Linked DNA regions of Homo sapiens: regions 1, 3, 4, 5, 6 and 7 are each linked to region 2. The links are contacts of gene promoters, found by promoter capture Hi-C in blood cells and fetal thymus (Javierre and others, 2016). All regions are on one chromosome and are shown on one strand. Each heading gives the region's core, a stretch centred on a gene start or on the middle of the fragment in contact. The rest is flanking DNA. Distances are from core to core; before and after follow the strand shown. Region 1 overlaps PKNOX2 (PBX/knotted 1 homeobox 2). Region 2 holds the start of PKNOX2 (PBX/knotted 1 homeobox 2). Region 3 overlaps PKNOX2 (PBX/knotted 1 homeobox 2). Region 4 overlaps CCDC15 (coiled-coil domain containing 15). Region 5 overlaps PKNOX2 (PBX/knotted 1 homeobox 2). Region 6 overlaps CCDC15 (coiled-coil domain containing 15). Region 7 overlaps PKNOX2 (PBX/knotted 1 homeobox 2).

Region 1 (3,195 bases), core at 323-2,822, 180 kb before region 2:
CCCCCTATTGTTCACCCCCAGGAATGGAGGCAGGAGGGAGGCCACAGCTGCTGCCCTGGGGTGCTCTGAGCCAACTCCCTCCCCCAGCCTGTGGCCCCCTTGGAACCTTCTAACCTAGAGAGCGGATTCTGCCCTTTTGTTTTCCTCTCCAGCCCCTCCATCTCTAGCCAAACAACAAGAGTGGGAGAGGTGGGGAGGCCCAGGGAAAGAAGAGAGCTTGAGGCCTTTTATTCAATTATTTTCCTTTTTTTTTTCAACATGCAAGCAGCTCCAGGGATCGGGACAGTGGAGAGCCCTCCAGCTCCTCCACGGTGGTGGCTAGGGTGGAGTGTCAGGGCACCTGGGAGCCCCGGCCCGCCCCTCCCCCAGAGACACTATCATGTGCTCTCTCGTCTGCACACACTCACAGAGAAACAGATCTGAAAATGAACCTGGGACTGAAGTCCCCCTCGACAAACCTGATTCCCAGGTTTATTATTATTTGTCAAGAGCTGACAGCAGCCGCTCAGGCACTGAGCTGAGAAAACAACACAGGCCGGGCCCCTGAGACCCACAACTCAACAGAGACAGACAAACAGCTCCAGCGCTGGGATCCCAGGTGGAAAAGCGCAGAGCCACCTCCGGCAGCCCTCTCGGGCTCCCACCCTTTCATAAGTCTCTCTTCTCTGAGGCAGTCAGGAGGGCCCTGACGCTCACTGGGAGCTGGGGGGAGGAGGAAAGCAGGCATGGGGACCATGTAAGGTGTGAGTAGGGTGGCCGGAGCAGGGGCTGGTGGGGGAAGGAGGGCATGGAGGCGAGGGACCCTGAAGCCTACGCATTCCACCTCTGGTGCAACCTCAGATTCTCCTGGAGCCAGCGGAGCTAAAAGGGTCAGCCAGGCCCCTTTTCTCTCTGAGGACTGTACTGTGTCCTCTGGCTAGATGATACCTTGTTCCAAATTTTAAAACTTGCCTTTAGGAAAAAAAAAAAAAAGTCAAGAGTCAGAGTTGTGGAAGCAAGTGGCTCTGTGCATTCAATTTATCATTGAAAAGCCACTAGTTCCTGAGACGCTCATACCCAGCCAACGTGTGCCCTTCCTGCACCTTCCTGGTGGCCCAGGCAGAGCTCACAAGAAACAAGAGCTCTAAATAGAGCCCATGGCAATGGGATCGGCTAGAGGAGGAAAGGCTGCCCAGCCAGGCTGCCCCACCCTTGGTCCTCACCACCCCCTTGGAAGGAGGGCGGGTACACTGGCTCTGTGTTCCTGAGCTTCAGGAAAGCCAGCCCTGGGGAAGGGAAGATGACAGCCATGATGCGAGAGGACGTGGCGCGGCCACACAGACTCGCACCCCAGCAGATACTCCCTCCGTCGCCCAACCTAAGATGCTCTCGTGCCTTTTGCTGTGTTTCTTGTCCGCTACCAAGGTGTTCTGTATTTCACAGCCATGCCGTTCCCTTCATCAACACTTGGCTCCAAAGCCTACTGTTCCATGAAGCCTTTCTTCCCCTTCCACTCCAGGACTACACGTGGGAAATCAAGGCGGGAATAATCATCATGCATGTTTCTGTGTTATGGAAAATCTGCTCCTCACCCGCATGTCCCATCTTGCCCACTGGCCCCTGTTCCCCCCAGCAGACAAGATCATGGCTCTGCCTTGCATGTTCACTGGGGGAGAAGGGGCAGCCTATACAATATGACTGCACAAAGTCTACCTCCTTATGGAGCCTCAATATATATACATGGTTATAGTTTAATTTCTTTGGCTTAACTCCTTTTTTTCTTTCCTTTTTTTTTTTTTGAGACGGAATCTTGCTCTGTCACCAAGCTGGAGTGCAGTGCAGTGGCACGATCTCGGCTTACTGCAACCTCTGCCTCCCGGGTTCAAGCGATTCTCCTGCCCCAGCCTCCCGAGTAGCTGGGACTACAGGCGTGCACCACCACACCCAGCTAATTTTTGTATTTTTAGTAAAGAGGGGTTTCACCATGCTGGCCAGGCTGGTCTCGGTCTCTTGATGTGATCTGCCTGCCTCGGCCTTCCAAAGTTCTGGGATTATAGACATTAGTCACTGTGCCTGGCCGGCTTACTTTTTTTTTTTTTTTTTTTTTTTGAGATGGAGTCTTACTCTGTCACCCAGGCTGGAGTGCAGTGGTGTGATCTTGGCTCACTGCAACCTCTGCCTTCCGGGTTCAAGCGATTCTCCCACCTCAGTCTCCGGAGTATCTGGGACTACAGGTGCCTGCCACCACGCCTGGCTAATTTTTGTATTTTTAGTAGAGATGGAGTTTCACCATGTTGACCAGGCTGGTCTCAAACTCCTGGCCTTGTGATCCACCCACTTCGGCCTCCCAAAGTGCTGGGATTACGGGCGTGAGCCACCGCGCCTGGCCTGGCTTGCTCTTAAAATGTAAAACAAGCCAATCCAAGAAGCATAACCCTTTGAGTCCCAGCAGCCATTTACACAACAGTGAGAATAAGTTGGTTAGTTTCTGGAGCCAATTTGGATGTGGGTGAGATGATAATATAGAATTAATAACAACTGCCACTTACTGAGCCGTCCCTGTGCCCCAGGCATGACACTAACAGTAGATACGGGTCACCTGGTCTCTTTTCCTTAACAACCAGATGGTGTCGGCATTACGGTTGTTCCCATTCGTGGGTGAGCAAACCGGGGCTTTGAGGAAGTTTCCAGATGTTACACACAGTCTGATCCCAGAGTCTGCAGGTTTAACTGGAAGTCTCAGGGTGAGGGCAGGAAATAGCAGGGAAGGACTGAGACTCCTAGAAACTGGAGAAGTGCAGAAAAGGTGAGGCTGATTATAAAACCAAGCTGCCAGTTTAGAGTTGGGCCCTCGAATACTGGCTGTCCTTTGACTTTCCTATGCCCTGATTTTCCAAGCATCATGTTATACTGACACCACTAAATGTCTTCTGTGTTGCCGAGCCTGGGCTTTTGTACATCAGTTAATGGACACACACTCTGTGCCTTCCCACGGTAGGGAAGTTCCTTCCATCAGCCCTGTCATCCTGCTACAGCAGTGTGTGTACACATTTTGTTAAATATTTCATTGCATTTTGCTCTTATTATTTTATAAAAATGAGCAGGAGATGGGAAAATGAAAGTGCTGATCCCAGCGATAAGAAGTAGGGGTCTCATAAACATAATACGACTGAGACGAAGATGGAAAACGTTAAGCGAGCTGAAAGCGGCAAATCT
Region 2 (3,301 bases), core at 594-3,093:
GCGGGCCACCGCTCCCGCCCCGCCGCGCTGCGCCCGCAGACCCAGGTGGCTCCTGGAGCACTCCGAGCCGCCTGGGTCGGGACCTCAGATCCACTCCCAGCCCCGCGAGGCTGCCCTGCCGCTTCGCCCAGAAGGTCTCTTCGATCTGTCCGCTTCCCGGAATCGCTCTCTTAGGACCGGGTCCTGTGTGGCCCAAGTCCTCTCCTCCTAAAGAAACACTTTCAGGGGGAAGCAGCAAAAATTCGGGGCTCGCCTGCCATGGCTCAGATCAACTACTTTCATCGCCTACCTAAACGCTTTTTCACACGCGGAGCTGCAGGACCCCTCGTGCTACCCTCCCCAAATTCCAATAGCTTCCACCACAAGAAAAAGCTGTGATCCTGTTACTGAATCCTAAAAACGCCACCCGTTCCTCCAGCCCCCAACTCCGACCTCCAGCCCTCTGCTCTGGCCGGCGTGTAAACTACTTATCGGCCCCTCGATCCCGATTCCGTAAACAGTCTGGATCCTATAAACCGAACTCTAGACTGGTCCTAAAACCCAGCCCTAATTCAGGCCGATCCACAAGCCCCTACCCCTCAATTCCCAACCCGAGTCTCCCCACCGCGCGGAAACCCCCGGCTCCCCCGTGAAGAGCCCCGGGAAAGGACGGCCCATTTCGCTCGTTTCTTCCTGGGGATCGGGAGCCAGGAAAGCCCGTCTCCTAACCCGAAAGAAATGCAAACTTTGAGCGGCAGATTCGGGATCCTGCGCCATCCCCCTCAGCTCTCCGCTCTCGATCGCTTTCAGTTCCCTCTTTTACGAACTCATCCCCTAGTTCTCGAGCCAGAAGGGCTCCCGATTCCCAAGCCTCGCGCGGGCCCCTACGCCCGCCTCACCAAAGATCCCCAGCAATCATGGAAAGCCGGTGACCCTACACATTCTCGCTCCTCCCTGGGTGAGGGTCCGTGCGTGTAGCCCCTCGGATCCTGGCTTCCCGGGCCCCGCCGGTGTTCCCCTGTCTCCACTGATCCGTCTGCAAACCCTCATTCGCCCTGCCTCCCCAGGCCGCGGCCGCGGCTCCTCGACTCCTCCGGTCACCTGGCCCCAGCCTGGGACCGCTCCCGCCTCCAGCCGCTGGAAAGCATCTCCAGGCTGGTGGCGCGGAGTAAGCGCCGGCCCCAAGGACGCCCGAAGCCGGGAGAAAGAGAACCTGGAGCCTGCCCGCGGTTCCCAGCCTCTCCCCGCGGAGCGCCCGGCCGGGAGCCTTCTGCACCCGGGCTCGGGCCGGCGTGCCTGTTCCTATTCTCGGGTCCCCTGGCGCTCCTGGCGCACAGCTCCCCGCCCGCCCGCTACGGGGTTGGGCCCGCGGCGATTCGAGTCCGCAGCCCGGCTCCTTGCACCCGAGGACAATGCGCGGCCGGCCACGGGCCCAAGCGCGGCGAGGCGGCGGCGGCGGCGGCGGCGGGGCTGAGCGCTGGCCGGGCAGGGGAGCGGGCGGCCCGCGGGGCTCTCGCAGCCTCCGTGCCCGGCCTCGCCGCCCCTCGCGCTGCTCCGCTCCGCGCTCTCCCGGCGCTTCCCCAGCTTCTCTCTGCACGCTCCCGCCGTCCCTCGCTGCTCCCTGCCTCCCTCCTCCCTGCTGCCTCCCTCTCTCTCCTCCCTGCTGCCTCCCTCTCTCCCTCTCTCCTCCTTGCCCTGTCGCAATGAATAATACTCTGGCTTGGGGACTGGAATAAAACACACGCGCTCTGAGGCAGCCGCCCGCAGCAGCAGCCGCCGCCGCGCCGCCGCCGCCGCCTGCAAAAGCGTCTCTGACATGGAAATGAATGACAGCTTACCTGATGCCAATCTTCATCAGACTGACACCGGCGTGACAACACAGCCTATACTTCCCAGCACTGCTCGGGACGTCAGCGGCACAGGGACCCGCCCCCCGGACCCCCCCTTCACACACCTCCCCTCTCCCCACTCCCCCTTTTCTCCCCACCCCCCATCACCCCCACCCACTCCCGGCCCGGCCGCTGCCAAGTCGGAGGAGCCGCTGGAGTGTCTCCCTCTACCGGAGGCTCTCGGGCGGCGGGCGCGGGCCTGCTCCTGCGGCAGGGAGGCGGGCGGCCTGGAGAAGCGGCTCCGCTCGCGAGGAGCCTCGGATGGGGAGTGCGGTGGACCCCCAGGAACTCTGGAGCACCCTCCCGCCCCCAAGCCAAGTCCTCCTTAGCGAACAACCGGGGCCGAGTTCCAAGATATCACCGGTGCTGAGGGGACCGAGATGAGGTGAGATTTTCTGTGGACCCCAAGAGAACTCCCCAGAAATGATGAAACTTAAAACGGGCAAGAAATCCTTCCTTCCACCAGCACTCCCCCTCCCCCTTTTCCTGCCTGGCTGGCCTCATTTTTATGATTGCATTTGAATAATTCTCATTACCCTGGCCCCAGAAAAGGTGTTCAGATGACACTCTGGTTAGTTATTCCTGGTCTCAAGAGCTTTTTCTGCTGTGGGCTTCCCGGGGTGTCTGGTTCAAGGTGGGGCAGAGGGAGAGAGGAAAGAGTGGATAGGCTTTGTCAGTAAAGCACTTCTTTGCAAATGTCAGGCAAGCCTGTTCTAAGCCACTGCTATTTTCATTCTAATAAAAAGTCCTCAAGAAACTCAGTGAGTTCCCAGAGTTCTGGGGGCTGGGGTGCAGTCATATAAAGGGAAAGACCAGCTGGGCTGTTTCAGCCTGGGCCTGCTGGGGTGGCTTCATCTACATCAGGGAGGAAATGGGCTCCTTACATGCCCTCTACAGTGGAAGACAAAAGCAGGCATGTGTAGACCCACAAGCGCCTCCATTCACTCAGCAGAGATCACAGTCCTACTAAGAGCCACACACAGGAGCACACTTGCTTGCTTCCTCAACTTAGCACATGGCCCTCCGCATAAAGGGACAAGAGAACCCCTTCTGCCTCTGGAAGTTTGCTTCTTGCTCCCCATAGAGGAGCCCTTTCAGCCAGTCAGGCAGCCATTGATCCTCTGACCCCAGGCCAGGCAGGGGGCCTGGAAGAAGCCCAGACAAAGACACCGACAAAAGCGGGAAAGCAGAAAGTGAAACCCAGCCTCTGGGTTTTCAGTAAAGAATCTGACCCAAGAAGTTGAAGGCTGCCCCTGAGCTCTTCTCAGGCCTCTGGGTCGCCACTCACCCGCCTCCGTCATGGGCAAGGATGAGAGCTGTTAGCATTGCCTGGCTCAGGGGAGGCAATTGAGACCCTTCTTATATCACATCCCAGATACACACACTACTGTTTGTCCAGATCCTCCCAATACCCTCAAATCCACCCACCAACG
Region 3 (3,199 bases), core at 368-2,867, 210 kb before region 2:
TCTTAGTGCCCAGGCCAGACACCACTGGGATCTCAGAACCAGAGAATAGCCTAGAAACTACTTTCCCAAACAGACCCCTAACCCCTTCCTGGGGCATCTGTTTACCGCAGATGGTCCACAACAAGTGCCCTTTCAGAGGAGGGCAGTAAATTTTCTCCTGGATGATGGTGAAATGAAGCCAGCGCTCGCAGATGGGCGCTCCAGGCTCTTCATCATGTGGCCTCAGACCCTTTTCAGTATCTCTCCTAGATCAAGCTTGTCCAGCCCGCGGCCCATGGGTGGCATGGAGCCTAGAACGGCTTTAAATGTGACCCAACGCAAATTCGTAAACTTTCTTAAAACATTATGAGATTTTTTCTTTTGCGTTTTTGTTGTTGTTTTGTTGTTTTGTTTGTTTGTTTTTGCTCATCAGCTATTGTTAGTATTAGTGTATTTTATGTGTGGCTCAAGCCAATTCTTCTTCCAATGTGGCTCAAGGAAGCCAAAAGATTGGACAACCCTGTAAAAGGACTCAGCAGAGAAAGGTGGTGGCTGGAAGGAGAGGGCAGGCGGACCCTGGTCCCTGGAATGGTCACTACTGTCCTTCAGCAGCCCGTGGAAAGCAAACTTCTGTGCCTTCCTGTGCCCATCTTTGCCCTTTGCTCTCGTGTGCCCATGACTTTCTTCCTGCTGCTCCTTCCACCTGAATTCCCTGCTCCTGTGTCTCTTCATGTCCCCTCCAACGACCTCAGCATCCAGGCCAACATGCCTTCTGTGCAGGCTCCCCTCATGGGTCTCTCCAGCAAGAGAAACCATCGCCTCCTCCGAGCCCTCACAGCAAATGCTAGGGGTTTCTTCCTTGACCTCACTCACAATTTAGGGTGGGAAGCTGGGTGGTCTGAAATAAGCTACACTTTGGGTAAGTTACTGAATTTTTGGAGCCTCAGTGTCCTCTTTCATTAAGGACAACACCTCCCATGCAGGTTCCTGTAAGAATTAAATGAAGAAACATGGAGAGTGTCTGGCACTTAGTAAACTATCAATTAATGCCTGCTCCATTTCCCTGGAACGGTGCGTGGGCACTTTTTAAATTCAGGGCAACACTGACACCATCTACTCCAATAAATTTATATTCCCATCTCCACTGACTCATTTGGCTGGGAAAACAAACCCACATGCCAATTCAAATAGAGGCCCAGAAAGAGGAGGGAGAGGCATCTTACAATTTATCAGAACTTCGAACCTCGTTTTCTTTTAACCGAAAAAGGACTGCCAATAGAAATTTATTTTTATTTATTTTATGACACTTCTTAAACTCTACTAAGCACAGTCGTTTGTGCACAGGACTGTCTTCCTCATGGCATGGTGGGCTCCTCCAGTCGGTGACCACATTTTCTCTCTCTCTGAACTCCCAAGGGTTAGGCACAGTATATGGCACACAGCAGAGGATCAATACATTTTTGACGAATCAGTGAATGGGAATCAGTGAATGAATGAGTGGAGTAAGCAATGACTATTGGAATGAAGGTTTTGAGACACAATCCTCAAGTTCTTTCAGGCTCAGAATCCATCCATACTAGGGGGACTTGGAACAGATTTTGCCATCTGGCAGCTTCTAGTCACAGTTGCTACGAAAGGACCTGCCTTCTTTGGGGCTCTGCTGGGGGCTGCCTGCAGAGAGGGTGGTGAGGTCTTAGAGGGAGGGGAGGGAGTAGGGAGGAAGGTGCTTGTCCAGCCCTCTGCTTCTCCTCCCCTTGAAAGCACCAGATGGAGAGAACAGAGGGGGGTGGGAGCGAGCCAGCGGCCCCTGGTTGGATGTATTTTTACTTCAGGTGTGACGTTGAAACCATGCGGGTGTATTTTTAGTCCTGCCCAGTGGGCGGTGTGTTCGCCTGGGTTGCCTTGGAGAGGACTTCTTCGAGTTGCTAAATTGGAGCTGCATCTGTCAGAGCTCCTGGGCTCCAGCCCAGCTCTCCTCCCCCAGGTGGGTGGACAGGTCCATTCCCGGCAAGTGTGGGGCCCAGGGCAGGTCGCAGTCTACTCAGCCCTCCTCCCTTCAGACACATGCACGCACACACTCCTCCCGGCACATTAAACGCATCTATGTGAAATCTCAACACAGTGAAAGTTAAAACTGCTCTGCGAGGGCAAAAATACAAAGAGCCTGATACATGAGACCTGGTGGGGATGTCGCGTCCAGCCCCTTCAGAACAAGGCGAGGTGACTCTGGCAGTGAAAAGAGAAGTGCGACAGACCCCATGACACGAGTTTACCTATATAACAAACCTGCTCCTGCACCCCGAACTGAAAATAAAAGTTATAAACAAAAGAGAAAAGACAAGTGTCCTTCCTGAAATTAGGCAGCTAGTGAAAGGCGATCAGTGATTCCAGCCAAGTCACCAGAAATTCAGCCAGTCCCCCTAGAGAAAGAACTTCAAGGGGAAGAGATGCTGTGAGGAGGTGAGCCCTAACCACGTTGTCTTGGTCACAGTCAAGGACTAAACACACACCCACACACACTCAGTGGCACTTTGTAAAGTGCTCTTATATGTGCTTATTGCATTTTGATACCCCAACGGGCTTCTCATTCTCATTTCACTCATTAGCAAACAGATGTGCTGTGTGGTTAAATGACCGCATCAGGCTATGCAGTAACTGAGTTGAGATTTAAAATCCAGGTATTCAAACTCCAAATCGTGTGCTCTCCCCTCTCTCCCATGTACTACTTGTGAGCAGTTACTGAACTCACTTCATCTGCCTTCCCCCTTTTCTCTACTGTTCTTGAGTCATACACATCCTGGGGTCCAAGCACTGAGCTGCCAGGATTACCCTGGGAGCCACGAGACTGTTGCTGTATGAGAGAATCTCTGCTTTATCCGGTGAGTTTCCAAAAGAACCTCCTCTTGTAATAATACTTGTGTGTGTTTGGAGAGGCCTTAACATTTTTACAGATCTCTCCTCTCCTCGTTTGATGCCTACCCTGTGGGGTAGGAAAGCTTATCTAAAGAAGTTAAAGATTTGCCCGATGATAGAGTCAGAATGCAGACTAAATTTTCAGTTCAGGTTCTTCCCACTCAACCATGAAATGGATCAGTGCCTGGGAAAAGCAGAAAGTGGCACTATGGTTAAAAGACAGGGAAGCTGGCTTAGCTCAGGCCCGGTGAGAAGCCACTGGCCATATGAACCTTCATGGCCCCAGCTTTCTGTTCTCCTCCCACCC
Region 4 (3,040 bases), core at 228-2,727, 210 kb after region 2:
TTTAAAAAGCATTATCCCACTATTCCCCACTTTACAAAGCTAAAAAAAAAAAAAAAGGGGGATGATTATCAAAAGTGAAGCTGAGTGTGATAACTCTTAATCCCTACCTCATACCCTAGATGTCATATTTATAGTTTAGGGGATAGGGAAAATATCATAGACATAAAATAAAAAGAACAGGTACTTACAGCCTGGGCTTGTTGTTGGAATAATTCGTTCTGATTCTCTTCATCCTCTATTCCATCCCCAGGCATCAGGGAAGGAGGTAACCTAGAACTTCCAATAGCAACATTCAAATTGTTTGGAAAAACACTTGTCCTTTTGGAAGTTAAGTGTGTTGCTGAAGACTGCATGGCTATGGAGCCTTCTTTTTGTGCCTACACGAAAGAAGAAAGGGGGATAGTAACATTCTACCCCAATCCAGAGCAATCAAATAATGCCTCTAAAGCAGTTCAGAAGATTTTAAATTGGGGTGGGGGGCAGGGGAGAGGCTTTAGCTGGCAGAGAAACTAACATTTACCAGGCACCTCCCATGTGCTAATAATTTAGGTTATCTCATCTAACTCTCACACAATCCTATGAGAGAAGTATCATATCCTTATTTTATGGATGAAGAAACTACAATCAGTGAAGTTAAGTAATTAGCCAAAAGTCAATAGCTAGAAGTAGCAAAGCCAAAATTCAAACTCAAGTCTGAACCCAAAATTCTGACATTGCTTTTAACTACTTGGTAAAAGCAAAAAATTGAGTCAGAACACAGGAATAAAACATGGTTTCTCTACAAAAAAAATTTACTGTCTTCACTAGTTAATTAGATTATATTAGGCATGTAATCAAAGGAAAGCAATTCTGTTACTGCCTAATAGCTTATCTCATAACACACATATTTTCCATTCAATCTTTACTCAGGCTCACTTTTGAACTTACTCTTTCATAAGACTTCTGAAGCTGTTGCTTTTTTCTCAACCTAATTTGTTGATTTACTCGGTATTTAACTTGTTTCTGAAAATGTTTCAAAGCTTCTTGTTTTTTTCTTAGCTGTTCCTTTAGTTCTTCTTCAATTAAATATGCTGATGTCTTTAAAGATGAAAGACAGAAAATGAACTTAAATGTTAGCAGTTTTGTCCATTAGGGCTGTTTTAAACACAAAACAGTCAGGATAAGGATACAATCCTGAAAAAAATAATTCCATTCTGTACAAAAAAAAATGGAATGTATGAGTATCAAATCTTAAATTTTTTATTGAATTAGAACTAACGATGTCTTCATTAAATCTTAATGAACCAAATAAAACCTAACACGTTACACATTTTCTAAAATGGAGTAAATAGTCAAGACACACCAGGTTACTTACCACTCACCAAATATGTCCTATTGTTAAAATGTCTTCATATTTGGCATTATGCTCCATTTTTAACCTGGCATGCCCTTCCTTTCATCTCCACCTAGTAAAGGCCTATTCAGTTTTCACAACCATTTAATACCCACTCCCCAGTACCTTCCACAACACTCTCTCTCTAAGCCCTCTTATGCTATAACACCTCTCATTTCACCAATGTTAACTGAGTATAGTACTTCTTGACTCCCCTACTAGATTATGAACTCTTTGAGGACAGGATATGTATTCAATTCTCCTTTATTTCCCCTACGGCATCTAGTACAGAGCCTTCACTATAAGGGTAGTCAATATATATTTATATAATTGCTCAATTCCAAAACATATTCTAAACCAGGGGTGTCCAATATTTTGGCTTCCCTGGGCCATGTTGGAAGAACTGTCACATAAAATACATTAACACTAGTAGCTGATGAGAAAAAAAAAAATCACAAAAAAACTCATAGTGTTAATTAAGAAAATTTATTAATTTACATTGGGTCGCATTCAAAGCCATCCTGGGCCACATGTGGCCCATGGCCGCATGTTGGACAAGCTTGTTCTGAACAATCTGGAACACTTTATCCCATTTGAGTTCTTGATCTGCATTTATCTCCTCTAAGTGCTTTGAATAATAATCATAGTCATCATCATAACAGCACTTATCATTATTATGGATCTATCAGGTGACAAGTATTTTAACTACTTTGTAGCACTCTATCCTCAAAACCACCTTTGGCAGTAGGTATTCTTATCCCTTATGTTACAGATGAGGAAGCTGGAGTTCAGAAAGATTAAGTAATTTTAATATAGCTAACTAGTAGCAGAATTAGAAGTTTCTGACTCCAACAATTATGTTCCTCTCTACACTGCTTTTCTCTTGACTATGTCTCTCTTTCACTAGGAATTTTCAAATTAAATAAAATCATCATCATATCTCGTACCTATTCCTTCTAACTCAGTGATTCCAACTTCTAATTCTGAAGGGTACCTCAGATCATTTTACAGGCTGTCATTAAATTCTCAAAATCAAATGCATTCAAATTTCAATTTAAGTTAAAATTTCCAAGATGTCTATCCCATAAACTACTCTAGTGGAGTGTACAAGTGTCAAAGAACAATTAGGTAAAATAATTCCAACGGAGAGATATATACGTAATGAAGCCTGAACAACTGACCCAGCTTAACTCAAGCCCCAGACAAGTTTAAGCCATTCGGCCTCTTTCTTTTACCTCCATTTTCTCTGCTCCTCTTTTACTCCACAAGATTACAAGCCAGGTCATAAAGAAACTTCCACCTCTGTTCTTAGAGTGCTCATTCTGAAGGAAGTCAGCACCATATAAAAATTCAGACTACCCTGAGATTACCATGCTGTGAGGAAGCCCAAGTTAGTCAAACAGAGAAGCCATGTGAAAAGAGAAACATATCTAACCAGCACCCAGACATTCTAGTCATCCTAGGCCAAGCGTCAGATATGTGAATAAGAAAGCCATCTTGGACATTACAGCCCAGCAGGTGCCACATTACTGGGAGAACTTGACTATTGTCTAGCTCCAGCCAATAGCCGGAAAATAGTCAAGGTGTCTCAGACATGTCCAGTTATTTGAGCCCCAGCTGAGGTCCCAGACACTATGGGGCAGAAACAAGCCATTACCACTGTACCCT
Region 5 (3,012 bases), core at 390-2,889, 240 kb before region 2:
GAAGCCTAGAAACTGGAAGAGCCCCTGGAAGCCACACATTTCCCCTCCCTGAAGTACAAATAAGGCACTGAGGTTTAGAGATGCCTGGGACTTCCCAAGGCCACACAGCCCGTTAGCAGCCAGAGGACTAGAACACAGATCTCCTTCACCCACAAATGCCCCCTACACCGGTTCTGGGCTGCAAATGCTCCTTGAATCCTGCAGGTCAACCAATCATCATTGCAGGCAAGGTGAACAGATAAAAACAACTAAAACTCAGAAGTCCAGAAGCAGCGTGGGCACTGGAGGAAAGGCAATCTCGTCACCACCCTTCTGTGGGCCTCATCTCCTTATGTATACAGTGCATGTGACACCGGGACCCTCAACGCCTGAGTTTTCAGCGATGAGACTGCTCTGAGTTTGAGTTCTCCTTGTTCCAACATCCCAGCCTACCATTCTCATGGTGTGTAAACCGTGCTGATATTATATTTGAAGCTGAAGCAAACTCGGAAGGTAAATTTACTTTTTTTTTTGTTTGTTTTTTGAGACAGGGTAGAGAGTCTTGCTCTGTTGCCCAGGCTTGTCTCAAACTTCTGGGGTCATGTAATCCTCCCACCTGAGCCTCCTGAGTCATGGGATTACAGGCGTGAGCCACCACACCAGGCTTGAAGGTAAATTTAATGGGGGAGTGGGTACCTCCATGCCATTCACCTTAAAACCAGTGGAAGTGACTTCTCAATCCCTTGTTTGGAATCATCCATGCTAGCCTGTGCCTCTTCTGGTAGGGATATTTGAGAATTTCAAACATAAAAGGTTGTCCTAGACTTTCTTCACCCCCAAAAAAGTACCCAACAAGGTTAGAAAAATACAAGCAAAGTCAGTAAAATAAATACAAGATGTGTCCCTTGGGATTCAACCAACACACATTGTTTCCTAGCCAAAGGCAGAGGGTGAGCCACCACCTGGATGCTTCGTCTGCTTACTCAGACCCTGGCTGCTTCTCCACCTTGTGGCTTGGATACCCTCCATGCCAATTTACCCAATTTGGGTAACTAAGGGCAATTTATGCATTGGATCAGAGCCTTCTCTTTCCTACCCTTCTCTCCCTTCCCTGGGTCTTTGGCTGGAAGGTGCTGAGAGGCAGCCAGATTCTATCAGTGAAGGAATAAAATAAAAACCTTCAGAGATAGAGTCCAAGGGCAGGGCTGGGACTGGCAACGTTTTAGGTGGGGCAGGGAAGAGGAAGCAAAATTTTGGCATCCCGGAGGTCTGGGGAAATGATATTCATCCCTTACATCTGTAAACATGAGCTGCTTCACAAACCTGCCTTGAGTGTGCTTTTTTTTTTTTTTTTTTTTTTTTTTTTTAGACATAGATTCTCAGGGCCACTGGGTCAAGACCCTCACCCATCATCTAGCAATCTATATTTCTAAAAACTTCCTTGTGATGGTCCCAAAGATCGTACACGCTGAGTATGAGAGAGCTTTCACCACGCTGTTCCATTTTAATGTCACCATCACCCCATGGGGTCAGCAGGACTGTCCTATTTGCCTGAAGAGAGATTGAGGTCCAGAGAGGATGGAAGTGACTTCCCAGAGTCAAATAACTGTGCCTCCAGCCTAAGGCCTCTGGCTCTGAGTGTAGGACGAGTGCTCACAGAGAGAGGATATGTGCTTCGGGGTCAGACAGGCTCCAATGCAAGCACAGTGCCTGGCACATTTAGCCATCCAATAATTTATTTCCCACTTCCCTTGGCTAAGGTCACTCAACTAGGGAGTCGTACAGTTGGGATTTAAAAACCTGTCCTAGAAGCCTTCAAGCCACTTGAGTTCTTTACGTAGCAATGGAAGGGGTTCAGCTGGGGTTGCGCACGCAGGCAGAGTTGTGCAAACCTGGCTACATGTCTCCCTGTCTGAGATGTTCCTGGGCAATGGTCGAGTCCCAGGATCCTAAGCATCGTCTCTGACTAGCCCCACAACTCCACTTGGCTGCGATTTCCAGTCCAGGCTTAGTCTCTAGAGCCGTGGAATGGAGACAAGGAGGGTCTGACTCTCTTTTCTGAGGAAGGAACTTCCAGAGCAGCGGTGGAAACCCCGTGGGGAGCACATGTTGGCTAAGCACACAGTATTATTAGCTTTTTGACAGCTTCCCCTCAGGGCTTATCAGACTCCAAACCCAGGTAGATGCCACTGTGTCTAGACACAGAGTTGCTCCCCTCTAGGCTCCTTAGCACCCAGATGGAAGTGAGAAGAGTGTTTGGTACGGTTCTAGTTACTTTTTTCAGCACCCAGAGCCTCACATCCCTGCTGGAATTATCCAGGAACCTGGGGATGACAGCTGGTTATCCAGCCCAAGAATTCTGTTCGTTTTGTTCCACTAGGAAGACAGCCGTGGTGTCCCCAAGCCTCTGGAAACTGCCTGAGGCCTGGGAATCAGATGAAAACCAACACGCCGGGCTCCATGGGCACCCCTGGAAGCGGCCCCACTCCTGTTCCTTGTGTGCTGTTGATTGAGACTCAGAAGCAGGAGCCTCTCAGGAGGGGCAGAGCAAGGCAGGGCTTTGGGTTTGGAATGGCAGAGAACTGGTGCCTCCCGAGCACCATCCTCTGGGCCAGCTGCAACACCCTGGAACTGCGACTGCCACTCATTCTTCACAGACCTCAGTGGTCCCCAGGGGAGTTTTACTCCAAATTGCATTTGGAACAGCAGAAAGATGACTTGTTCCAAAGGAAGGCCTTACTAAGAAACGATGAGAAGCTGTGGAATGACTTTTGGAAGTGGGGGGTGCAGGGGCCCACATGAATGCACAGCGGTCTCACGTCAGCCCAGGAAGAGCTGTCTGTCCCTGTGAGCCACCGTGCTTCATTTTTAATAGGGAAAGGGCTTGAACTGCCCTGGGAAACTCAAGGAAGACTTCATTTCCACTCAAGGAAGGAATTCCTGGAAGAAACCAGAATGGGACAAAGACATGAAGGAGTGAAGGAGATAAATGACAGAAAAGTTTCTGTTTAAGCTGTTTTGAAATAGGTGGAA
Region 6 (3,308 bases), core at 546-3,045, 190 kb after region 2:
AACCTAAAATAAAAGTTATTTTAAAAAATTAATTAAAAAATTAAAAATAAAATGCTCTAAATTAGATTGTGGTAACAGTTGCACAACCCTGTGCAAACTGTGAGTACTAAAAACCAATGAATTGTACACTTTAAATGGGTGAATTGTATGGTATATGAATTATATCTCAATAAAGTCCGTTAAAAAAAATACTGGATATCTTAACCCTTTATCCCATCCTTAGTTAGCTGTGGATACTTCTAATAAGCCAATGTCTTTCCCCTCTACTTTTTATATTTCCCTACCTGATTTTCCATATAATTCTGGTAAGGTACAGCAGCTAAAAGACCTTGATGGACCTTAATGGGCAACTCTCCTCTTATTCCTGTATTTATCCCAGTGGATGCTGGTTTCCTGGAAAGCACTTCCTGGAAAAAAAATTACTACAAATATAAATAGGTCTAGAGGAAGCAACATATTCATGAGACTAAGTTGAGTTTCTGTGAAAGATCTAAAATTATCTTAGTAGGTTTTGGTAGTCTAATACACAGTAAAGGGAAAAAACATGAGTTCTACTTCATATGTACAAACAAAGCGCTCACATATAAAACCATATGGAATAAAACAGGAGAATATATTAACTTTATAAATGACAACTTGCACCTATTCTAGCCAGTAACAATTTCAGAAGACTCATGATTTTAGTCTTGGCAACCTGCCAGAGTACAAGCAAGTATGTGTTCCACTTGTATCTCCAAATCCGGATCAATAACAACCAGACAGATTCTAATGTCACTAAAGACTAATAATGAAATAAAACCAGGGTTCAACTCAATCATAGATTGTTCTTTCTGATTTGCAAATTCCCACTTCACACAACTAAGAAGGTAGAAAATTGTTGAGATTTGAGGGAAAGCTTGATACAAGTAATAAGAAAAATTTCACCAATTTCTTAGATCATTCCCAATTGTATTGAGTAGATTTGTTTTTCATATTTTTACCTGAAAAACATATATGCTTTCTTTGGAAGCAAGTAGGTAGCCTGAATTCATCATTATCACCATAACAATAATGAATTACACTTAAATGGCACCTCTGACGTAAAAAACTGGTTTATACAAAGATGTTATCTCAGACTTAATCCTCCCGTCTATTGGATAATTATTTCAATCAGAACTGTGAATAGTACACTTTCTGGAAAAACACCAGTTGAAAGGTCTGAGCATGTTCCAAGCAATATAAATATCCATCTCTAAGATCTGATAACTGTGTTTTTTTTTCTGATTTAGTAGAAAGTGTCTAATCACCTCATCTAACAGTACCCTGGAGTCAGTCTAATGGCCCAAACTATAGTACTACCAAACCACGATAGGTATGAAAACTGTCAAGAAACCAACATCTGAAAATAATTTAGGTACAAAAGAAACTCTGAGGAGCCACAAGGCAATGCTAGAAAAAGACAACCATATAAACGCACGTGGGATGTGTTGCCATACATGGACACATATCCACGCCCACTTGTTTTTTAAATTTAACTATAAATTTCTTAGTTGTAATTAAAGAGAAAAACATTACAGTTTAGTATTCAACCAATTGCCAACATATATGAGACAAACATTTTTAATGGTTGGGTCAAGATATGGAAAAAAATACAAAATTATATATCTATATATTTATATATTATATATATTATATGCATATTCCAGGAAAATATAAGAGTATACTAATTAGGAAGTAAAACTGGGAAAGAACTAAATGAGGCAGTTGATGATGGCAAAAAAATAACATATTTATTGGCAAAAAAACATAATTTATTAAAAAATAAATTAATGGTCTATTTTACTAGATGCTGCCTATAAAACATTAATGCCAAAATTAAGTACACACAGGAAAACACATAAATTTAGGATCCAAATTTGTGAATTCTGAGGTAGGCACCAAAACAATGTCATTTTATAAGTATAGACTTACATATCCTCCTAAGCCTAGCTCCACACTCACTTAAGTTTTGAATCAAAAGAATTTTTCTTTTTAAAAATTAATAGTTTCAATTTTTTCCTGATTAGAAAGTGACATACTTTATGACAATTTTTAAAAATAAAAAACAGAAGAAAATCACCTGTAATACTACTACCCAGAAATAATCAGTATTAGCCTCTTGTGCCATTTGTACCTAGGCTTTTGTCTATGCACATGGAACTCTTTCCATCTTTTTATTTTGCTGTATTTCTCTTCATAGCACTTATCACTTGAAATTATATTCTATATTTATTTGCTTGTTTATTATATGCTTCCCAACTAGCACAGAAGCTCCTTGAGGGATCTTTGTCTGTCTTTTCACCACTATAAGTCCTGTTTCTAGAACAATGCTGGCAATCACAGACATTCCATAAGTATTTGTTGAATACATATACATATATTTTAATTAAGATCATATCATACTTAATTTCATATCCAACTTTTTTCTTAACTTTATATCACAGACACTTTCCCTTATCTTCAGATATTCTTTGAAAATATTTTTTAGAATGGCTGCATATGGATATGTCACAATTTACTCAAGCATCCCCTACTATTGGGTATTTAAGGCTATTTCCAATTATTTTACAGTTCTAAATTATGCTGAGATATAAGTAAATCTTTATCTGTATTTTTTACCTGTATTTTTTTAAATCATGTATTAGAAATTAATTTACCTCTCTGGTAAGAAAGCTTTTCCTTCCATCATCTGGAAACACTGATCCCTTTTTTTTAATCACGGTTTTAAAGGATGCTAGCCGGTGACGTGCCTGTTTCATAGTTTCACTAAGCTGCCAGGGAAAGGGGGAAGAAAGCAAACAAAAGCAGGATAAGTTTTAATTCCAAATGCACTAAGTGTTCCAACAGGAAAACAGGTCCCTATTATTAAAAAATGCCAGATCTAAGACAACAGGATTACTTGCAAAGGAGACTTTGATGTGCTGATAGTGTGGTACAACATTATTGTCATTATTCTAGAGATTGTACTTTGTAACTTGGTTTAAGGGCGGTTACTCAAACTGTTTTTTAAGAAATAATGTATACTTTATATAAAGCATGTACACAAAAATATGAAAACCTAAAGTCTGAATTAATACACTTGGAGATCACTGACCAGACACATTCCTTACCTTCTATCCACCTTTGTCAATAAGGAGTTATTTCTTCAAGTGCTCCATATATGCTTAATTGCTTTCATCACTGCTTGCTAGGACTCTATTCCTAGTTTCCTTAAAGCCCTTTTATCCCCAATTTACATGACTCCTTTCACCACCCTCAACATTTGAAGACCATAGCTACTTAAAGTCTTT
Region 7 (3,509 bases), core at 122-2,621, 190 kb before region 2:
CATGGCAGAGTAGGTGCCAGCCAGCCCCAGGAGGGCCCCCTTAGGCTGCCAAAACCTTGTGTTCTGGCCCCCTGGGGCTGCCCAGGCCTAGCCCTCAAGGGGCCACTGAGGCTTCAGGCGGGCCCGGCAGGGCTGGTACTCCCTCCAGTTTGGGGCAAGCCAGGTATGGGATCAGTTTCCTGGCAACCAGGAGAGAAGCCAAGGACCCGGGAAGAGGTCAGGGCTTGAGGTCACTTGGTAAACATCAAGTCTGGCCTTAATAGGTAGGAGGCAACAGGGGACATGAACATTGTTGGGGGGCACAGAGTCCAGGGCGCTCCAGACCTGGGCCTGCTCAGGCGAGTTGGAGTATGGGGATATGTCCAGTTTAAAGACATGGGTGGCTCAAGCAGGCAGAGAGAGCGGTCAAGGTGCACAAAGAGAAGAAAGGCCCAGCAGAAAACAAAAAAGAAAGAGAAGAGTCTGTTTTGATGAGTCAAAGCAAGGGAAGGTGGGTCCCCATATGGTCCCTGGGGTGTTGCCCCTGGGGCAGAGGGACCCTTCGCTAACAGTCACAGAAAAAGCTTAGGGGAACTTTCAAAGCTACTGAAAGCTGCTCACGGATCCGCAGCCTTGTCACCTGCACAGCCCTCCTCCCCTTACCCTATCGCCTCACACCTACCCTTGGTTGCCTGAGCGCACCTGATGGTGTCCACCTTCCTGCCTTTCCGATGGTGTCCACCTTCCTGCCTTTCCGATGGTGTCTACCTTCCTGCCTTTGCTCCCACAGCTGCCTCAGCAGGGACTGTCCTCATCTCCCCTGCAACCTGCCTCCCACCCAGCTGCAGCTTCAACTCTTCCAAGAAGCCTTTCCTGCTTCTCCTCCCTCCCCAGGCCGCAGAAGACTGGACTCCTGCCTCATCTGAACGGACCCCAACACCGGCAACACCAGGCCCTTTGCCTGTCTCATGAGCGGGCTGGTCTCCCAGCTCCCATGCCTGCCCGCAGTGTACTCCCACATGTTAAATGACTGAAGGATGACCAGAAGGAGGCAATGACTGAGTGATGTGTTAAAGGCCTCAGGGATCCCAAATCCTGGGAGAGGCCAAAGAAGGCCCCTCAAAATATTCCCCAACCCAGTTAGCCCAGGGAGAGGAAGGGCCGGCATCAGAGCCGGACAGCCCAGTGTAGCTCAAAGAGGCTCTTGGAACAGCAGGCCTCGGTCACCTCTATTCTGATCCCAGGCCAAGTGGACAGAACAGACCATAGAAGAGTTGCTCAGTGGTGTACAATGGGGGTTTCAGTTAGTTAATTAATTTTAAAAGGGTTTGTAAGTGGTGGTTTACACAATGTGACTCATGGAACATTCACTGCCCCTAACTGCATTTCCTGGGCTGTCACTGACAGGAGGCCAAGAAGAGGAAAGCTGTGGACTCCACTTCCCAGCTTTGTGCATTTTCCCGGGAACTGATGGCCTCCTGCCCATCCCATCGCTTCCCTCTGGAAGATCCTTCCCTTTTGTAATAGTCCAAAACCAGTGATTTCCAATAGGTCCTTCAGAGGGCACACCAGAATCCCTGTGTGTGCACATCTATGTGTGTGCGTGTGTGTAAGGGGGTGTTCATAGCTGGTAAAACCTATTTGACATGCCTATTATGTTCCTAATAAAAAGTAATTAAGGTTAAATCCCATCTGGGCTGCTGGAGATGTGCAGGTGATCGAGTGAAGAATGAAGTTGGGGTGAGGGTGAAAAGGGGCTGAGGAACACCACTGTACTTTTTGTTCCCACACTCTCAACAGCCTCGTGAGACAGGGAGGGCAGAGTTATTCTCATTTTATGAATGCAGAAACTAAGGCCCCACATGGACTCTAAGCTCCAAGAGGACAGGAACTCTGTTGATTTTGCACCCCAGTACACAGCACAATGTCCGCATGGCCCACAGGACACACTCAATGTTTATCGAATGGATAAGTGGATGAAAGAAATAGCTCTGAAATTACTTGCCTAAATTTGTATAATTCATCAGCAGTGGAGCTGATAATTATACAAATTCTTATTACAAGTCCTGATTGCTGAATTTCTACGAGATTGAGTCATTCCATCCTCCTCTTCAGACCACAGACTTCAAGAACAGCAAGCATCCTGGGGCCCTAACTCACCCACCTGCCTCCTGCCAGGCCGCACAGACACCAAAGCTTTCTGAAGACCAACTAAGACCAACGGCGTGCGAAAGGCAGGCAGAGCATGTAAGGTCCTCCCCAGACCCGCTGCTGACTTGGATCACCTGTCCCCTGATTTATTTTAGGCTTTGTATCCCAGGGCCATTAATTATTTTTGTAGCTGTTTAGGGCATTCATTCGTTCTGCTTGGGGACAAGGGAGTAGACAATAAAATCTCTGTTTTTGGTAAATATCAGAATATAGTAAGTTCATCAAATAAAATACCTAGACCAGGCCAGTAGAGTGTTTCTTCCCAAGTTTAAAGCCATGCTGACAGCCCACCATCTCCTACATGGGCATAAAGGCCCCACGGTTGGACCTGGAGGTTGTTTTTGCCTTTTACACAATGAAGAGTCCAGGTCTTGAGTAAGTTGGAGTTCAGGGATATGTTCAGCTTAAAGACATGGGTGGCCCAAGCAGGCAGAGAGAGAGGTCACTGTGCACAAAGAGAAGAAAGGCCCAGCAGAAAAGAAAAAAGAAAGAGAAGAGTCTGTTTTGGTGAGTCGAAGCAAGGGAAGGTGGGCCCTCATATGGTCCCTGGGGTGTTGCCCCCAGGGGCAGAGGGAGCCATCAATCACCATCACAGAAAAGGCTTAGGGGAACTTTCAAAGCTGCTGAATTAACTCTATTGCTGCAAAGCAAATGTGTTTCACAGGCAGCTGAGCAGAGGGCCCTGCAAGGCAGGGGGCTCCAGCCCTTAAAGAGATGAGAGGAATGTAAAGCGAGTGTGAAAACATCTGAACCCACTTCTGCCTGTCACAGCTGTGTGGCCTGGATGGAGGCCATTCACAGCCAGGGGCCCCAGCCACCCCCTTTTGCCTCCAGTTAATTAAACCAGCATGGGGATCCTAATGACTGATCAAAGCCCATCCAGCTTCCCCAGGATATCTGCCTCCCCTGGCCCCACCTGGAGTGGGGATGGTGCTAGGACAGGGAGGGAAAGAAGGTGCCCAGAGAGACAGGTCTGGCTTCCTCAGTGTGGCTGGCCCAGCCTTAGCCTTCCTCTTGCAGGGTAAGTGAGACAATGTTGTCTTGACCCCAGATCTCTGAGTGCCATGTCCTGGAGTCCCAGACACCATTCTCCCCACTCTGAGGGATGCTGGAGGATCGGGGTGAGGGGAATGGGAGGGACACAGCTTTTGCAAAGGGGCCCCAAGCAAACACTTGACTTCCTTCCGAAGTGAGCCTCACAAACCGGACCTCAACTACGAGTTCTAACTGCCTGTCTTTTCTCTCTCTGTTCAAAAATGAGGCTGCATCCTTGGTGAACTTCCCAAACCCTTTCAATGCCACTCATCATCAAGTCATGC

Evidence for each region. Contacts are between HindIII fragments. The CHiCAGO score rates a contact against its expected background, and 5 or more counts as called.
Region 1: a contact is called between a fragment that was not itself captured here and the fragment with the promoter of PKNOX2 in region 2, in 3 of 17 cell types (endothelial precursors, M2 macrophages and M0 macrophages). The highest score is 10.6, in endothelial precursors.
Region 3: a contact is called between a fragment that was not itself captured here and the fragment with the promoter of PKNOX2 in region 2, in 2 of 17 cell types (endothelial precursors and M2 macrophages). The highest score is 6.6, in endothelial precursors.
Region 4: a contact is called between a fragment that was not itself captured here and the fragment with the promoter of PKNOX2 in region 2, in 12 of 17 cell types (monocytes, naive B cells, total B cells and 9 more). The highest score is 10.2, in monocytes.
Region 5: a contact is called between a fragment that was not itself captured here and the fragment with the promoter of PKNOX2 in region 2, in 1 of 17 cell types (endothelial precursors). The highest score is 5.7, in endothelial precursors.
Region 6: a fragment that was not itself captured here is called in contact with the fragment with the promoter of PKNOX2 in region 2 in 6 of 17 cell types (monocytes, endothelial precursors, M2 macrophages and 3 more); the score reaches 7.2 in monocytes.
Region 7: a contact is called between a fragment that was not itself captured here and the fragment with the promoter of PKNOX2 in region 2, in 1 of 17 cell types (endothelial precursors). The highest score is 5.9, in endothelial precursors.

What each region holds. Positions count from the first base shown.
Region 1 is chr11:125,339,943-125,343,137 of GRCh38, reverse strand. All of the region lies in intron 3 of PKNOX2 (PBX/knotted 1 homeobox 2), which reads right to left. Among named protein-coding and RNA genes, the nearest start is that of PKNOX2-AS1, 75 kb to the right of the region's middle. RefSeq lists an enhancer at 1,040-1,789. The HindIII fragment of the contact is 5,222 bases long and covers 1-3,195 here.
Region 2 is chr11:125,163,293-125,166,593 of GRCh38, reverse strand. It overlaps PKNOX2 (PBX/knotted 1 homeobox 2), which reads right to left and starts at 1,843. Exons shown (of 13, transcript NM_001382323.2): 1 at 1,818-1,843. It overlaps PKNOX2-DT (PKNOX2 divergent transcript), which reads left to right and starts at 1,985. Exons shown (of 3, transcript NR_125759.1): 1 at 1,985-2,253. RefSeq lists a silencer at 1,981-2,130. The HindIII fragment of the contact is 6,114 bases long and covers 1-3,301 here.
Region 3 is chr11:125,374,952-125,378,150 of GRCh38, reverse strand. All of the region lies in intron 5 of PKNOX2 (PBX/knotted 1 homeobox 2), which reads right to left. Among named protein-coding and RNA genes, the nearest start is that of PKNOX2-AS1, 110 kb to the right of the region's middle. The HindIII fragment of the contact is 2,720 bases long and covers 258-2,977 here.
Region 4 is chr11:124,957,152-124,960,191 of GRCh38, reverse strand. It overlaps CCDC15 (coiled-coil domain containing 15), which reads right to left. Exons shown (of 16, transcript NM_025004.3): 3 at 928-1,077; 4 at 189-377. Among named protein-coding and RNA genes, the nearest start is that of CCDC15, 4.5 kb to the right of the region's middle. The HindIII fragment of the contact is 912 bases long and covers 1,022-1,933 here.
Region 5 is chr11:125,405,252-125,408,263 of GRCh38, reverse strand. The region is part of intron 7 of PKNOX2 (PBX/knotted 1 homeobox 2); the gene reads right to left. Among named protein-coding and RNA genes, the nearest start is that of FEZ1, 90 kb to the left of the region's middle. The HindIII fragment of the contact is 3,415 bases long and covers 1-3,012 here.
Region 6 is chr11:124,974,577-124,977,884 of GRCh38, reverse strand. CCDC15 (coiled-coil domain containing 15) reads right to left here. Exons shown (of 16, transcript NM_025004.3): 5 at 2,676-2,789; 6 at 285-407. Among named protein-coding and RNA genes, the nearest start is that of CCDC15, 22 kb to the right of the region's middle. RefSeq lists a silencer at 666-866. The HindIII fragment of the contact is 1,796 bases long and covers 898-2,693 here.
Region 7 is chr11:125,356,331-125,359,839 of GRCh38, reverse strand. All of the region lies in intron 4 of PKNOX2 (PBX/knotted 1 homeobox 2), which reads right to left. Among named protein-coding and RNA genes, the nearest start is that of PKNOX2-AS1, 91 kb to the right of the region's middle. The HindIII fragment of the contact is 1,612 bases long and covers 566-2,177 here.